Regions from separate parts of the Homo sapiens genome. Here region 1 is linked to region 2. The links are contacts of gene promoters, found by promoter capture Hi-C in human tissues and cell types (Jung and others, 2019). All regions are on one chromosome and are shown on one strand. Each heading gives the region's core, a stretch centred on a gene start or on the middle of the fragment in contact. The rest is flanking DNA. Distances are from core to core; before and after follow the strand shown. Region 1 has its middle 21 kb from the start of ITGAM. Region 2 holds the start of ITGAD (integrin subunit alpha D).

What was found. Contacts are between HindIII fragments. The study calls those that stand out against the background at their distance.
Region 1: a contact is called between a fragment that was not itself captured here and the fragment with the promoter of ITGAD in region 2, in 1 of the 25 tissues and cell types used here (dorsolateral prefrontal cortex).

The regions. Positions count from the first base shown.
Region 1 is chr16:31,237,214-31,241,059 of GRCh38, forward strand. No RefSeq gene overlaps it. Among named protein-coding and RNA genes, the nearest start is that of ITGAM, 21 kb to the right of the region's middle. The HindIII fragment of the contact is 6,547 bases long and covers 1-3,846 here.
Region 2 is chr16:31,391,869-31,395,783 of GRCh38, forward strand. ITGAD (integrin subunit alpha D) reads left to right here and starts at 1,467. Exons shown (of 30, transcript NM_005353.3): 1 at 1,467-1,523; 2 at 2,368-2,473. The coding sequence starts at 1,493. The HindIII fragment of the contact is 7,632 bases long and covers 1-3,915 here.

The DNA.
Region 1 (3,846 bases), core at 788-3,287, 150 kb before region 2:
TGCTGGCTAATTTTTAAATTTTTAAAATATTTTTTAGAGACAGGGTCTCGCTATGTTGTTTAGGCTGGTCTCAAACTCCTGGGCTCAAGTGATACTCCCACCTTGGCCTCCCAAAGTATTGAAATTATTAGCTGAGCCACTGTGCCAGGCCTTGGAGTAGCACTTTAAACTTCCTTCAATAACTTTTCCTTTGCATTCACTATTTGGCTAACTGGTGCAAAAGGCCTAGCCTTCAGCCTATCTCTCAGCCTTTTTTTTTTGAGACAGAGTCTTGGTCTGTCACCCAGGCTGGAGTGCAGTGGTATGATCTTGGCTCACTGCAACCTCCGCCTCCCGGGTTCGAGTGATACTCCTGCTTCAGCCTCCTGAGTAGCTGGGATTACAGGCGCCCACCACCACACCCTGCTAATTTTTGTATTTTTAGTAAAGAGAGGGTTTCACCATGTTGGCCAGGCTGGTCTTAAACTTCTGATCTCAGGTGATCCACCCGATTCGGCCTGCCAAAGTGCTACGATTACAGTCGTGAGCCACTGCGCCCAGCCTCTGTCTCAGCTTTTGAAACGCCTTCCTCGCTAAGCTTAATAATTTGATTTAACATGACGCTTCCTTTGATTTAACATGACCCTTCCTTTCACTTGAACACTTAGAGGACACTAGGGTTACTCATTGTACTAATTTCAATATTGTTGTGTCTAAGAGAATAAAGAGGCACAAGGACTGGGAGAGAGAGGGGAACCACTGACTGGTGGAGCAGTCAGAATGCACACATTTATCCATTATGTTCACCATCTTTTATGGTTGAGGTTTGTGGTACCCCAAAACAATTACAATAGTAACTTCAAAGATCACTGATCACAGATCACCATCACAGATAGAAGAATGATGAAAAGCTTGAAATATTGTGAGAATTACCAAAATCTGACAAAGAGAGGTGCAGTGAGCACGTGCTGTTGAAAAAATGGCACCAATAGATTTGCTTGACGCAGGGTTGCCACAGACCTTCAGTTTGCAGAAAATGCGGTATCCATGAAAAGCAATAAAGTGAACTACAATAAAACAACGCATGTCTGTACTTAATTATATCTTACAGATAAGGGGAAGGTTTCCTTTGACCACACCCCCAGTGCTGATTATTTCTTTTTCCTCCTCATCAGAAGTAATATTGTCAAGTTTAGTGAGTAGTTTTGTTTTATGTTTTGAGACAGAGTCTTGCTCTGTCACCCAGGCTGGAGTGCAGTGGTGTGATGTCAGCTCACTGCAACCTCTGCCTTCCAGGTTCAAGTGATTCTCCTGCCTCAGCCTCCCGCGTAGCTGGGACTACAGGCGCCCACCACCTCGCCCGGCTAATTTTTTGTATTTTTAGTAGAGATGGGGTTTCAGGATGGTCTCGATCTCCTGACCTCGTGATCAACCTGCCTCGGACTCCCAAAGTGCTGGGATTACAGGCGTGAGCCACCGCGCCCGGCCTATTTTTAAAATTTAATTAAAAAAAATTTTTTTGGCCAGGCATGATGAGTCATGCCTGTAATCCCAGCACTTTGGGAGGCCGAGGCAGGCGGATCACCCAAGGTGAGGATTTCGAGACCAGCCTGGTCAACATGGTGAAACCCCGTCTCTACTAAAAATACAATTAGCTGGGTGCAGTGGTGGGCACCTGTAATCCCAGCTACTCGGGAGGCTGAGGCAGGAGAATCACTTGAACCAGGAGACAGAGGCTGCAGTGAGCAGAGATTGTGTCACTGCACTCCAGCCTGGGTGACAGAGCAAGACTCTATCTCAAAAAAGAATTAGCCAGGCATGGTGGTTCATGCCTGTAGTCTCAGCTACTTGGGAGGCTGAGGTGGGAGGATAGCTTTGCACTTTGGGAGTCTCATTTTCAGATATGAAAAAAAAGCCCAGCACGGTTCCAAAGTTAATATCACATCCAATTTAAAGAGACCTGGTGAGGCGCGGTGGCTCACGCCTATAATACCAGCACTTTGGGAGGTCGAGGTGGGAGAAGCATTTGAGTCCAGGGGTTTGTGACCAGTCATAGTGAGACCCCATCTCTCCAGAAAAAAAAAAAAAGGCTGGATATGGTGATGCTCGCCTGGGGTCCCAGCTACTCAGGAGGCTGAGGCAGGAGGATTGCTTGAGTCCAGTAGTTGGAGGCTGCAGTGAGCTATGATTGGGCCACTACGTGTCAGCCTGGGCAATTAGAAGGAGACCCAGTATTTTTTTTTTTAATGTAAATATAAATAAGGTGACCTAAAGTGGTGAAGGAACCCTCCCCACTCCTCTCTGCTGGCTCCTTCAAGGTCAAGGTTAATCAGAGGAAAAGGGGCTGGGTGACACATGATTGGTGTGTCTATGATCTGTGACACCTGTCATGTGCTCTCCTGGGAGGTGTTGGCTTCTTCTGAGGTGGTATAGGCAGACGCTTTCTGGCTGGCCTCTTATGACAACCCCTCAGTCCTTCCTCCCTGCCCCTGCCCCAGGGGATTCCACTCCCGGCAGCCTCTCACTGCCCGTCCCTTTGCCAGGGTAGGCAGCTGTTTAGGGCAGGGGCCGCCACAACACTAGAGCCCGCTCATTTTGTTGGCATTCACCAGGCCTAGGGGTCTCATTTATTCTCACCTATCCAAAAGGACGTGCCCTCCTCTCTCTCCCTGTCTGGCCCCTTCGGGCTGCTCCGGACCTTCTCGTTCCTCCTCCAGAATCCTCTGGGTTGGATGACAGCACTGGTGGATGCCACACTCAGGGGCCTGCATCAGGTTCTCCTAAGAACCTCTTGTCAGCCTTCATCTGAGCCTTCCGGTTCCTGCAGCCCAGGAGAGCCGCCTCCAATCTCCACAAGGGCTTCTTCTTCTTCTTTTTTAATTGTTGTTGTATTGTTTGTTTGTTTGTTTTTGAGACAAGGTCTCTGTCACTCAGGCTGGAGTTCAGAGGTGCAATCACAGCTCACTGCAGCCTCCAACTCCTGGGCTCAAGCGATCCTCCCGCCTCAGCCTTCCAAGTAGCTGGGACTATAGGTGTGCGCCACCCTGCCTGGCTAATTTTCACTTTTTAATTTTAGTAGAAATGGGGTCTCAGTATGTTGCCCAGGCTGGTCAGGGCTTCTTTTGGAGCAACCTCCTCACTTGCTTTGAGGTGTGGGACGTCCCTGTGGGGGCAGGTGAGGAACCACCACAGCTGTCTCATTGAGGTGGGTGATGAGGGTGGAAATTAGCAAGATGGACCTGCTCTCTCACTAGGAATCCTAAAGGGTGTGTCTGCGGCTCGGTTTAGAATGTGGGGCTTTGTATTAATCAGTTTTGTCCTCAGCTTTGGGGCTGTAAACAAAAATTCTATCAATTTGCATTCCAAACAGCACCGTACGAGAATATAGTTTCTCCAAATCTTCTCCAGCACTCTTTTTTTTTTTTTTTTTGAGCCAGAATCTCATTCTGTCGCCCAGGCTGCCAGGCTGGAGTGCAGTGGTGCAATCTTGGCCCACTGCAACCTCCGACTCCTGGGTTCAAGGGATTTTCCTGTCTCAGCCTCCCGAGTAGCTGGGATTTCAGGCTAATTTTTGCCTGGCTAAAATTATCATGCCTGGCTAATTTTTGTAGTTTTAGTAGAGACAGGGTTTCACCATGTTGGCCATGCTGGAGCACTCAATATTATCAAGCTCAAATTCTTATTTCTTTTTGCCAACATGATGGGAAATAAATAAATAGTATCACATGGCTTTTTAAAAGTTTAATTTATATTTTTCTCATTGTATGCATTTATTGACCAGTTATAATTCCTCTTCTAAAAATGGTCTGTTCCTATGCCTTGGCTTTTTTTTTTTTTTGAAACGGAGTCTCGCTCTGTCACCCAGAC
Region 2 (3,915 bases), core at 217-2,716:
CCTCAGCCTCCTGAGTAGCTGGGATTACAGGTGCGCACCACCATGCCCAGCTAATTTTTGTATTTTTAGTAGAGACGGGGTTTCACCATATTGGCCAGAGCTGGTCTCAAACTCCTGACCTCAGGTGATCCATCCACCTCAGCCTCTCAAAGTGCTGGGATTATAGGTGTGAGCCACTGCGCCTGGCCTATTCCTAGCCTTTTATATATAGACCTTTTTCTTTTTCACATTTTAAAGGAACTTTTATGTTTAATCATGGAATATTTCAAACATACAGAAAAATCACAGAAAATAAATAACAACCACTCATTTATCTTCTCCCCAACCCCATGTAATAAATATTAAAATATTGTGTTAAATGCTAAATTTAACACATGCTAAAGGTTCCTGGCTGGATGTGGTGGCTCACGCCTGTAATCCCAGTACTTTGGGAGGAGGAGGTGGGAGGATTGCTTGAGTCCAGGAGCTCGAGACCAGCATGGGCAACATAGTGCGATCTCGTCTCTACAAAAAACAAAAAAATTAGCTGGGCATGGTGGTGTGCATCAGTAATCCCAGTGACTGGGAGGCTGAGGTGGGAGAATTGCTTGAGTCTGGGAATTTGAGGCTGCAGTGAGCCCTGATCATGCCACTGCATTCCAGCATGGGCGACATAGCAAAACTTGTCAAAAAAAAAAAAAGTTTCCTCTCTGCCCCACCATAGACAACCACTCTTCTGATTTCTATCTTCGTAGATGAATTTTGCCCATTCTCTTGTATATGAAAGGAACCAGACATTAGGCATTCTGGTGTCTGGTTTCTTTCACTTAAGATAAAATTGAGTTAACCTGTATTGTTGTACAGAACTGCAGTTTGTTCTTTGTTATTTATTGTAAAGACAGGGTCTGGCTATGTTGCCTAGGCTGGTCTCGAACTGTTGGCCTCAAGCAATCCACCTGCCAAGCTCTGGGACCACAGGCATGAGCCATGGCATCTGATCTGTAGTTTGATCTTATTTCTTGCTGAGTAGTAGCCCATGGCATGACTTTATTATTTTGGGTGTCCATTCTCCTCTGGAGGGGCTCTGCTTTTTGAAACCACACCCTGGCCTAGCTCCCCTTCTCCCTGCCTCTCTGCCGGCTCACATCCACATGCCAAGACCTCTGCAGCCATTCTGCTTCCTGTCCTTCCACTCCTGTGGGACCTCAGAGAGCTACGGGGCTCCCTGGGTACCAACTGGCTCCTGAGGCCTGGGGGAGGGTGGTCTTCTGGGAGAAGGAAGCCAGGTCCCTGCAGGTTGTGGAGGGGGACAGAATGAGGGTTTTTCCCCAGGGTGTTGTTGGCCCCTGCCCCCACTTCTGTTCCATAATTAACCACGCCCCTCCTACCCACTGTGCCCCTCTTCCTGCTGTGTGGAGGCCCTGAATCATTATTTTAACTACCCCCTGGGAGGGTGAGCACCTTCTGTGCTCTGTCCCCAACCTTCCACTTCCCCTCAACGCGCTGCTCAGGGATGACCTTCGGCACTGTGCTTCTTCTGAGTGGTAAGTGGGGCCAGGGTGCTGGGGAGAAGCTTGGAGGAGTTCTGAGGGGACTCCATCTGGGAGGGCAGGCTGGGGGCTGGTGGTCGGCTCCAACCACTCTTATGAGGAGCTGAGGCAGGGGAGTGCTTCATGTGCGAGTGGCCCGGAGTCAGTAGAGTGTGACCTGAATGAAGAGGGGCTCAGGGGCTGTGCTCAGGTGGCGACTAAGCTACCTCTCCAGCTGGCTATGTTGTCCCAGGCTTCCCTGCTCCCACTCATGGAGTCCCTGGTGTGGGTGACAGAGGTCTCCCCAGCCTCCCCCGGGAGTGGAAGGCCACAGAAGCCACCAGGGAGGGGGAAAGGTTGGACATCACCTCCCTGGGCCTGTTTCCCCCAAGTCCTGACTGCACGTAGGGAAGAGGCCCCCTGCTGAAAACTGCATCAGAGTCACATTCACGTGCCATCAAAAATCAGGCTTGGCTGGGTGCGGTGGCTCATGCTTATAATCCCAGCACTTTGGGAGGCCGAGATGGGCGTATCCCCTGAGGTCAGGAGTTTGTGACCAGCCTGGCCAACATGGTGAAACCCCATCTTTACCAAAAATATAAAAATTAGCCGGGCATGGTGGCGTGCACTTGTAATCCCAGCTACTTGGGAAGCTGAGGCAAGAGAATCGCTTGAACCCAGGAGACGGAAGTTGCAGTGAGCTGAGATCGTGCCGTTGCACTCCAGCCTCAGCAACAGAGCGAGACTCCATCTCAAAAAAAAAAAAAAAAAAAAGAAAAAAAAGAAAAAGAGGCTGGGAGGTCCTAGGGATTGGGGCTTCTTTAACTCCCAGCCTCCCCGCCCACCAAATATTCCTCAGTCCTGGCTTCTTATCATGGATTCAACCTGGATGTGGAGGAGCCTACGATCTTCCAGGAGGATGCAGGCGGCTTTGGGCAGAGCGTGGTGCAGTTCGGTGGATCTCGGTAGGCCCCACTCACCCTCCTTCCCCAACCTCCACTACATCAAGTCCTGTGGATGGGTACACGTGGGTTACCCCAGGGAGGTGTCCTGGAGGAAGGCCAGCAGGGGTGAGAAGTCTTCCCTTGGCTCCTTGGAGGCCCTGACATCAGCACCTATTATTCTCAATCCCAGGAAAGGCCACAAAACTCTAGACAAGACCCTACCTTACCTCGGGAGGGAAGCCTTGAACCTGCCTCCCAGGCAGGGCCCACTTCTTGGGGCCAGTATGGTCACACAGGGCCCACACTCATTAACTTTGGAGTTTAATGTTCTGCCCTTGACCTCTTGAAATTCCTGATTATTTTTATTTTTATTTTTACTCCAGCTCTGTTACCCAGGCTGGAGTGCAGTGGTGCAATCACAGCTTACTGCAGCCTCAAACTCTCGGGCACAAGTGATCCTCTCACCTCAGCCTCCTGAATAGCTGGGACCACAGGTGCATGCCATCATGCCTGTTTTTTGTTTTGTTTTGTTTTACTTTTTACAGAGATGGAGTCTTGCTATGTTGTCCAGACTGGCTGAACTCCTGGGCTCAAGCAATCCTCCTGCCTTGGCCTCCCAAAGTGCTGGGATTACAGGTGTGAGCCACCCTGTCTTGCCAATTCTTAAAAATTTTATCTGTGCATTTGTGTTTTGCAAGTAAAGAATGATGGCAGGGCTGGGCACCATGGCTCACGCCTATAATCCCAACGCTTTGGGAGGCTGAGGCGGGCAGATCATCTGAGGCCAGGAGTTTGAGACCAGTTTGGCCAACACAGCAAAACCCCATCTCTACTAAAAATGCAAAAAAAATTAGCCGGGCATGGTGGCAGGCATCTGTAATCCCAGCTACTTGGGAGGCTGAGGCAGGAGAATCGCTTGAACCTGGGAGGTGGAGGTTGCAGTGAGCCGAGATCGTGCCACTTTACTCCAGCCTAGGTGACAGAGTGAGACTCCGTCAAAAAAAAAAAGTCATGGGAGAAGGGAGATGCACTGGGGGTTTGGAGCCTTAGCTCAGCAGCAGCCCCACCTCCCACCGCCTCCTGAAGGGTGGTGAAGGGGTATCAGCTGCTGGCTCCCCCACCCATGTGGGAGCAATGACCGCTGCTACCTTCCGCCCCTGGCATGAGCTGGGTAAAGTCAGTTAGGGGCGCTCACTCTGGGAGTACCCCGAGGGAGTGGGACACTACATAGCAAATAAAAAACGTCAGGACAGGTTGAGGAAGAGAGCAGAAGAAAGGTAAGAGCCCCCCAACCCCAAGAGACCCCACAGTTTTATTTCAAATTGGGACCCACAAATTATGAACCTGCCCCCACTTCCAGGAGCTCACATTCTCCTGTCCCAGAGAGTTCAAGTCACAATGTGACACAGGTGTCACCAAGGTCTGGGGGGCGCAGGCAGGGAGAGAGCAGACCCAGGAGGGTT